Linked DNA regions of Homo sapiens: region 2 is linked to region 1. The links are contacts of gene promoters, found by promoter capture Hi-C in blood cells and fetal thymus (Javierre and others, 2016). All regions are on one chromosome and are shown on one strand. The core of a region is centred on a gene start or on the middle of the fragment in contact, and the rest is flanking DNA. Distances in the headings are between cores, read along the strand shown. Region 1 holds the start of WDR26 (WD repeat domain 26). Region 2 overlaps LOC105373109 (a long non-coding RNA gene).

Region 1 (4,891 bases), core at 1,355-3,854:
ATATATCCAGGTATTATATTGCATAGAAATTCTACTAGGTCAATCTTTAAAATTAAAACAAATCCAGCATCAAAAATCATTCCCTTTCTCTCTATACTAAAAATAGCAAATTTACTATGGTGTAGGTTCCAAACAGTCACGAGTTATTTCCTCCTGCTGCTGTCAGCTTGCTTCTTGTCTCAGTAATATGTTCTGTTAGCATTTACAAAATCTGTTTTCATACTAATCCTTTTCCCTAGGGAATAAAGTGAATTCTTCCTACCACATATTTGTCTTTGAGCACTTAAAAGATTCATCAACTGTATTTTCTTCCCTCATGTATTCTGGTATCTAAGAACCTTCATTTATCAGTCTATTTTTTGTGCTTATGTTTCAATGCTTTCTTATTCAGCTTTAAAACTTAATTTTTAGCTAAACAGTGCAATGATCTGCCTGAAAACCGAAATACTTGTGCCACTTTTAAAAAGTTCTGTTCTCCTCCCCACTCCCCAAGAAATCCATAAATGCAAAAGTACACATCGGCTAGCCTGAGAGCTTAATCTACACTCTGAATGTAGGAAACTGACTGCTGCTGCACGTCCTCCCCCCTTCATTTCATTCTGACTCCGTCTCTTGCACCTCCTTCATCAGGCACTCCCACCAATCCTACCTTCCACCCCCTTAGTTTTTCTTTGTGTGTATACAAAACGGTGGTTTTTGTCCAAGGTCGCTGTCTACCTTCACCCTATGTTAGGTATACAAGGCCACCTAAATTGTATTTGAAAACAAATGGTTCACCAGATCAGATGTCCCCTTTTCAGAGGCGATCATCTTCTTGGTATTAAACTGAGATTTCAGACTAGTTAGGGTTAGGCCTCTTGTACACACACACAAGGGCCTTTAAACGACATCAACACTGTATCTTCATTATTCGCATCAGATTTATTCAACAACCTCTTTCCAAATGATCCCAGCCCCTCCGTTCCCATAAACACTTGTAGGTGATTGTCTTTCCTGATTGGTAGTTTGCTTGGGTTGTTGTCTGCCACGGTTGGGGGTGGGGAGGTGTCCCACAAAGATGCCTCCAAGATACACTTGAAAAACAAATCCTCCAAGGTTCATTATTTCCACCAGCTCTAATCCACCCCTCCCCCAACACATACAGAAACACACTCCCGCATCTGTCTTTATTGACAGACAATTAAGCTCTGAAGGTGCGTGGGGAGAAGTCATTCTTTGGGTTTCTCCTAACCCTTCCTAACCCCTCAACGCCTGTCTCGTCTCACAATTTGTCAGACTGATTGATTTTCCCCTATTTCCTTTCAGGTCCGCTCCTCCTCCCCGGTCGCCCTGAGCCGCGTCCTCCTGTGTACTGGGTCCTGCGTGCCCAGCACTCATTCTCTTTGACCGAGCTCTTTCAAGCCCCCCTCCCCCCTCCGCCCCTTCCCCTACCCCCCTGGAGCCTCCGTCCCTCGGTCTGTCCATCACCAGCTGGCGGTAAGGGATACTTACTTGAGCCCTAAGCCATTCAAGTGCTGTCCTATTAGCCTAATGACATCCTCATCTGACTGGGAGAGCCGCTTCTTCTTCTTGAGGCTGCTGCCCAGTTCTGGGGTGGCCAAGGAAGAGGAGGCGGCGGTGGTGGCGGAGGCAGCTGCGACGGTGGCTGAGGATGCGGCGGCCGCCCCGCCGGGAACCCCGTTATTGACATTCAGGCTGTTGCTATTGTTGCTGGCGGCGGAGGGGGCGGAAGGCAGGAGCCCATTGGCGTGGGCCAGGTCCCCCGCGGACGACGACGACGAGGGGGACGACTCCCCGTTCTGGGCCGACAAGCAGGCGAGTTCCGGGGTCTGTCCCTGGCCCCCGCCGCCCCCTCCTCCTCCACCGCCGCCGCCGCCACCTCCTCCTCCTCCTCCTGCCCCATTGGCCTGCATGATGCTGCCGCTGACCAGGCTGTGGCCGCTACTTCGGTGGGGGACAGCAGCGGCGGCGGGAGGGGCAGCAGCCGGGGGAAGTCCCACCACTACCACCACGGAGGAGGAGGAGGAGGAGGAGGACGAGGACGACGAGGACGGAGGGGAGAGGCCTGCTCTGCCTGCCGAAGCCCCGGGCTCTCCTACTCCCTCCGCCGCCGAGGCTCGGGGTTTCTTCCGCGGGGGCGGGGAGGCTCCGCCGGTGTCCGAGTCGGAGGAGGAGGAAGCGGAGGCCAGAGTTTCCTCGCCGAGAGAGGCCGTGGTGGGAAGCCGGTGGGGCGAGGCGGGGGAGGGGAGGCGGGGGCCGGGGAGAGGGTCGGGGTGAGGGGGGCCGGGGAGGCGGGGAGGGGGTCAGGGTAGGAGGGTGAGGGTGAGGGTGAGAGGAGGGGGAGGAGGAGGAGGGGGAGAAGGAGGATCCGGGCCCTTTCCCCCCCCCCTCCCGGAGGCAGCTCGGGGTGCGCGGCCCGGGGGTCGCGCCGGGGGGCGCCGCGGGGCGGCTGCGGGGGCGCGGGGCCCGCCGCTGGGCTGAGCCCCGGCAGTGGCTGCGGCGGCGGCGGCGGCGGGCGGCAGCGGAGGCAGCTGCCGCCTCTGTCCTCGGATCCGCTCCGCTCTGCTCCCTGGTGTGTTGATTCTTCCCCCAGCTGCTGCCTAATGGAGTCCAGGCGCTCGCGTCACAGGAAATGCCTATACTGCCCTCCTCACTCACTTCCGGTGGCAGGTATGGAACCTATAGGGGGCCTGTCACCCAGCACGTGCATCGGGGGCTGTCCCGGGGGTCAGGGGAGGGAGGCCAGCGGGCCGGCGGGGTCCGCCCCGACCCCATCCACGACCCCGACTCCTATCCGATCCTATCCCCGGCCCCGCTCGGGCCTTTCCCCTTGCGCCCTGGCTCGGCTGGCTCGACGAGCAGTAAGTTCGTAGCCGCCCTCCGAAGCCGGGCGTGCATGGGATGGCAGAGTTGGCGTGCGTGCGTGAGTCCACCAGTGTGGCATGGGCATGTAAGGTGCGCGGAGGGACTGCACCTTCTCCATCAGGTGCAGAAGGTGAGGATGGGGCAGGGGGCTAGGAGCTTCGACAGGCAGGAACTTCCAGGCACAGGGCTGTGGTAGGCCCCTCTCAATGGTAACCAGGACCGAAATCGGGTTTCACAACCTACTTGTTTTAGGGTGGAAAAACTTGAATTTCCACAGCCAAGTGCCACACAGTTGCTGTACCCGGGGCCATCCCGGGAGCTGTGAGATAATGAGCCGGTGAGACTCTGCTCCACCCTGGGAAGGGGAGTTAGTCTAGAGGAGCATATCTTATGGGGACAAGAAGTCACAAAAAGGCTGTGTGGTGTGTAGAGAAGGGGAGGGACTCTGCTGTTGAGGCTTCACTCTTTTTTAGCACTTGCCCAGCACCTCCTTCTCTCTTCCAGCTGCCTCTTGAGTCACTGCCCAGTTTAGGGAGCAGTAACATAAACCAAACAGTTGCCTCCAAAATATGCATTCTGAGAAGGATTCAGGCACCCATTCAGATCCAGGCTTGAAATTTTTACGTGGCATGTGAGCCTTCTGTGTCATCATGACTTACCAATTTATGTGAATGTAGAAATGCAGCAACAAAGACTGGGCTGAATCTTAATCATTGGCAAATGGTGTGCATTATCCCCAAACAATTATTTTCATGTATGTGGTTGATAGCATCTATACTCAATATGTATAAAGATTTTCTCAGAAATTTAAAGTCTTTCTCTGAAGTAGTTTTCCTGTGGGGAGGGGAAAAAAAACACCTTAGTTTCTAATTAATACATCATACATCGCTGATATTTATTATAGTAATAACTGAAAGTAATTTTGAGGCCTTTGGAGACAGTTGTTTTTAAATTTGGAAATACAATAAAAAATGATGCTGATGAGAAATTAGTAAAGAATCCTGAGGTTTATGGATCCTCAGACAGGAAGAAGTAAGAGGAAGGTCAATGCAGGATCTTACAGGGATTTGGTTTTGTAGTTCTTACTGCTTAAATTTGCTTCCAGGTGGCAGCTGTAATTGCAAGGTGACTCACATACAGTGTTTATATTCACCTGAGGCCGACCTGAGTTCTAGTTGAGGTTCATAGAGCTCTGTCACTGTATCCAGCAGAGCCTGAATTACTAGATAGTTAACACCCTCAGAGAGCCCTGTTTGTATATTAACTTTAGACAACCTTATTATTAAAAGTGTTGTTTAGGCAAAATTTAATTTTTGCAAAATGGTTTATAATAATTTATTAGGCCCATAGCAACATTGAAGACTTGCTTCTGAATAAAGACTGTAGGTTTTATAAAGGAAATCAGTCACTTCATGGCAGCTACAGACAAAGCTCACACTTCATTAACAAAAGTAAAATGATGAAAAATAAATTGGATTCCATTGCTATCTAAACTCTATATTCCAGTTTTTCTAATTTTTAGGTAACCAACACTGCTCGTGTTAGAATTCTGAATTTATAAAGTCCCTTACAGAACATTTTTCTCTGTACTAAAACACAGCTTGAGAATCTGTTATCTGAACTCTGGGTCTTTAGGTCTTTCTAAAGCCAAGTTTCAGGTCTATGTGCAGATGAACAATTCTGAAATACCACTCTACACACTGAGGAACCTTCAGTAACACCACATTACCTACAGAATAAAATCCAAATTCTGTCTTGCTCACCACAGGTTGCTTTCAGTCTTTCTTTTTGGCTTCATCTCTTATTGCTCCTCTTCAGGGACCTGTCTACTGTCCGCCAAATGTACTGGCTCATTTCTCCTTGAGAGTCTTTGACTACACTCTCCCGTCTTTTCTTCACCTGTCTGATGCCAGTCAGTCTTTCAAGACTCAGCTCATTTCAAACCTCCTCAGGGGAGCCTTTCCTGACTTCCACTCTCCTAGCCGTCATTGTGGGTGTCATTTATTAGGCTCCTCAATCACGAAGG
Region 2 (4,891 bases), core at 793-3,292, 470 kb after region 1:
CCAACCACATGAGAACAGGGAGTGGATATGCATTCAGAGATTACTATAGTGAGGGAGTCATCCCTTGCATTTTGGCAGAGATTCAAAGGCAGGCAGAGGAGTGGGAAAGCTTTATAGTAGGGAAAAAGAGAATTCATGTGTACCCTGATTGGAAGCTGTTGGCATGGGGAAGCTGCAGACAGACTACCTATAAATGAGGCATCCTGTGTAATGTTTAGGGGTGCATATTTGACTTTTTCTGGTAGTTCCTAAGTTGGAAGTAGAAAAATTAAAGAAGCTGTCAATTATTGAAGCAAGTGCTGGCCATTTGAGGCCAATTGTTACAGGAGTTATTGTTTGGGTTCCTGGACTGTTTCTTAGAGATAGTAGTCAAATCTCCAGCAAGTCTGACTTGTGGATCATAGACTGGCTTCCTGGGCTGTTTATTGTAGATAATAGGGTTGTTTCCTGGCCTGATTGCTGCAGGTTGTGGATCAGAGTTCTATTTTTATATATGTTCTGGCCATTGTCCATTTGTCTATTCAGTCTCTCAGTTGTCTCAATCCATTTACCATCCCCATTCTCTCATAATCCAGAATTTTTGTCATGAACTACATCTTCTGATTTATGTATTTGTGGTTTGCAAAGTTGTGGTGGGTGGGAGATTGTTTGGATTTTCTTATTCACAATGCAATGAATGTTTTAATGGGCAAGCAAAGATTGAATCAAAAATATCTAGCAGCTCTGAAAAGCTTCACTCTGAGTACTGCTGCTTGCTGTTCTCATGAGAACAGTTGCTAGGATAAAATACAGCTTTTCTTTGAAGTATTATTACTTTATTCATTCATTATGTCTTTGTAAAATACCTACATCACACAAAGAACTATTGCAATAGGGACTATGGGGTTATAAATATGTGTGTCCTTCAGGGGGCATACATATGTGAAACACCTAGATAAAAATAATGACGGTGGATTGTTCTGATTTTTAAGTAAATTGGAAAGCATGAAAACTGTTTTATTGGGGAAAAAAAGCCTATTGGAAGAAACATCCTAAACAAATAAGAGATGGTTGATTATCCAGAAAAATTCATTTCCTCTCAATTTTATCAGACAAAAGATTATGCATTCCTTAGCCATCAGGGAAATGCAAATCAAAATCACAATGGCATACCACTTTATACCCACTAGGATGGCTGTAATAAAAAGAGAGATAATAACAAAGTGCTGAAGGAATCAGAACCTTCATATACTCCTGGTGGGAAAGTACAACGGTGCAGCTACGTTGGAAAAAGAGTTTGGCAACTCAAAAGATGAAACATAGAGTCAGTTACCATAAGACCCAGCAATTCCACTCCTAGATATCTACCCAAGAGAAATAAAAACATATATCCAGACCATAACTTGTACATGAATGTTCATAACAGCATTATTTGTAATAGCCCCAAAGTAGAAATCACCCAAACATCTATCAACAGATGAAGAGATAAACAAAATGGTATATCCATACAATGTTATGTAATTCACACATGAAAAGAAATGAAGTACTAATACACACTACAACATGGATAAATCTTGAACGTATCAGGCTAAGTAAAGAAGTCAGTTCCATTGACATGAAATGTCCAGAATGGGTAGATCTACAGAAAGTACATTAGTAGTTGCTTCATGGCTGTGGGCTGGGAAGAAATTGAGAATGACTGCTAAATAGTATGGGATTTCTTTCAGGTATGATAAAAATATTTTAATAGTGATTATGGTGATGGTTGTACAATTTGGTGACTATATGAGTACTAAAAACAACCGGCTTGCACACTTTAAATGAATACATTATATGGTATGTGAATTATATCTCAATAAAACTTATTTTTAAAAAGATGACAGATTGTAGCACTATCTTATGTAGTGAACATAAGTAGTGAACAACACTTCTGTCAAGGAACATTACACAAAACTTTAGGGCTTTAAGAAGAATATGCATCTTATTTCATCATTATCATAGTCATATGCACAAAGGAGCACAGTACTAACAGATTTGGTGAAAACAAAGTATATGAGGGAGATTTACATGGAATCAGAGTTGGCTGAACTACATACATATTTCCTGTAAAGTTCTTGTGAGTGTGTCCATCATTTTATTCACGGAGTCAGAATTTTCAGATCATCAATTATCTATCAGATACTATGTTTGGTGCTGGGGAATAAGTAAGCAAATGGAAAAAAGCTATAAGTTTTAAAATATACACTTTGGAGGGCCTAGGTGGGAGGATCGCTTGAAGCCAGGAATTCTAGACCAGCCTGGGCAGCAAAGTGAGACTCTGTCTCTACAAAAAATAAAAAAAACTTAGCCGGGTGTGGTGGCATGCACCTGTGGTCCCAGGTACTTGGAAGGCTGAGGTGGGAGTATAGCTTGAGCCCAGCAGTTGAAGGCTGCAGTGAGCTATGATTGCAATACTGCACTCCACTCTGGGTGACAGAGATACCTTGTCTCATAAATAAATAAATAAATAAATAAATAAATAAATAAATAAAGTCAATGCTATAGCACATGTGAAAGTAAAAGCTACTTGCTCTCAAAGAGAGCTTCCCATTTGAGAAACAAAAACACAGTTGCATGACCCTACTGGTTGAGCACCGGCACTAATCAGGATTATTCAGTAGCAGGTTGCATAAAACAATTTGAGCAATCGTAAGCCAAAGGGTTTTTCTAAGAGCAGGAATGCAGCTGGGTCTCAGGAAAGAATGGAACTGGAAACCAGAAAACCTTCATCACCACCCCTGCCACTGCCCATAGTGTTTTCTTCCTGCCTCTTGGTTCTGTACCTCTCTTCCTGCTGCTGCTCTTTCTCTACAGGCTTCTGCTAATTTATCCACAAGAAAGAGTATGGTCTCTCAGTTTATATGTCCAGCCACAGAGACAATCTATTTTCTTTTTTTCCTCTCTCTCAGCATCTTCAATTTTAAATTCCGTCTATAACCAAAAGCAAATTAAGTGACATTCTTTCCACTGAAACTAACAGAAAGCCCAGGAAAGAGTGGCTTTAGTCTTTGCTACTCCAAGTCTGTGGACGAGCATCATCGGCATCATCCATGGGCTTGCAAGAAAAGCAGAATCTGAGGCACCACTCCAGACCTACAAAATCAGGCTCTCTGCTTTCACAGGACCTCCAAGGGATTTGAATTGAACATTAAAGTTTAAGAGTTGGGTTAATCAATTTAAAATATTTATTATCTCATTTAACAGGAAGGCCCAAGAATGGTGGTTCCAGGCTGGTTGATTCAGAGGCTCAACTGTGTCATCAGGACCAGCGATGACCAACAGCATCCTTCCACTCTGTTGTTTTCCTCTCAGTTCTTAAGAAGGTTGCAGCCTTTCCAAGCTTCCCATCCATGCATAACAACGTCTAGTAGCTGGAGGAAAAGGTATTTATTCTTTGGATTCCTTTTTAAGTGGGAGAAAAATCTTCCCAGTGTCCCCTCAGCAGATTTCCCATCACATATCACTGACCATAGTGTGTCACACAGCTGTTCCTAATGTAACCACTAGTAAAGGAATGGAATCCTCATAACTGACAGACTGATCAAGATTCACCCCCTGGATCTGGGGAAGGGCTTAACTTCCCTAGAAGCAACTGGCCTCCTATTCTCTTAACAGAACTGGGATCTATGAGTAAGGAATAAGGGGAGAATGGGAGTTGGGTAGGCACCCAACAGTGTCTGCCACACCACTCCAGCAATAAGCACCCATGTGTGAAGCATAGTGTAGGAGGTATGAAGCAGAAAGTGCCTACGTGTGAAGCATTAGTAGCAGAAGAGTTGCTATATCAAATGGAGACCGCACAGAAGGGTTCTTTGATCATTTCACACAAATTCCTCAGCAACCCCCATGTTCATATACTTGCCCGGCAGCCTTTGCTTCCTCACTTGAAAGCAATTTCTTCAAAGACAACCAGATTGAAAGCTCATTGCAACTATATTTTGGAGAGCTGGGAGAGGAATGAGTGAAACGCACATGGATATTTTCTGACATGTAGGTTCCCACAATGGGAGGTGGAATGTTTTAGTTACTCCATAACATCTTAATAAGCTGAACATTGGATTGATATATAAAACAATGGAAATTGAAATTTATTTAACATTCATTAGGCACTTGGCAGTATTCTAAACACTGTACATAAATTAGGTAATTTAATCCTCCTAACAACCCTATAAAGTATATACTATTATTATCTCCGATTTATAGAGGAAATGCTGAGGCAGAGAAAAAAATATTACTTGCCCAGTTACATACTGTGTAAGACACAGAGGCAGGAATTGGAAAAATGAGAAGCTGTAGGCAGGCTAACTGGAAGTGGGGCATCCTATGTTATTGCTTAGGGGTGTGTATTTGGATTTCTCTGGCTGGTCCTAATTAGGGAAGCTGTCAACTATTAAGTACTGGTCATTTTGCAGGGGTTGCAGGAGTTATTGTTCGGCTTCCTGGACTGTTTCTTAGAGATGACAGTCTGGATTTAAACCCAGAAGGTCTAATGCCAGGGCTTGTGCTCATAATCTTTGCAGCAAATGAGCATTCAGTGGTTTTTATGCACATCTCCTTCTGAAACTGGAAAAGTCACTGGCTAAAAAGATCTCAGGTACCATTATAAGAATCTGGGATTAACAGCCGAGGAAGATGTCTTTCTCTTAAGCAAATATTAAACCACACAAAAATTCATTGCAAAGTTATAAGCTTAAAGGAGCTTGCTGCCAATTTTATTTTACTTCATCCACCTAACTAGTGGTGTTATAGTTGATTTGTTGAATCAACTCAAGGGAAAGAAATGTGCTTGTTATCTAATAATGCTACCTACCAATTTGAACACTTGATAGCCTCTAAAAGCCTACATTTATATATCCCAATTACTGGATAATAA

Evidence for each region. The method cuts DNA at HindIII sites, captures the fragments that hold promoters and counts their contacts. A CHiCAGO score of 5 or more calls a contact.
Region 2: a fragment that was not itself captured here is called in contact with the fragment with the promoter of WDR26 in region 1 in 1 of 17 cell types (M2 macrophages); the score reaches 6.2 in M2 macrophages.

Annotation. Positions count from the first base shown.
Region 1 is chr1:224,432,193-224,437,083 of GRCh38, forward strand. WDR26 (WD repeat domain 26) reads right to left here and starts at 2,605. Exons shown (of 14, transcript NM_001379403.1): 1 at 1,492-2,605. The coding sequence starts at 2,213. It also overlaps a transcript of CNIH3 not described here. RefSeq lists a silencer at 2,584-2,983 and an enhancer at 3,324-3,513. The HindIII fragment of the contact is 13,558 bases long and covers 1-4,891 here.
Region 2 is chr1:224,897,771-224,902,661 of GRCh38, forward strand. All of the region lies in intron 1 of LOC105373109 (a long non-coding RNA gene), which reads right to left. Among named protein-coding and RNA genes, the nearest start is that of DNAH14, 29 kb to the right of the region's middle. The HindIII fragment of the contact is 2,627 bases long and covers 730-3,356 here.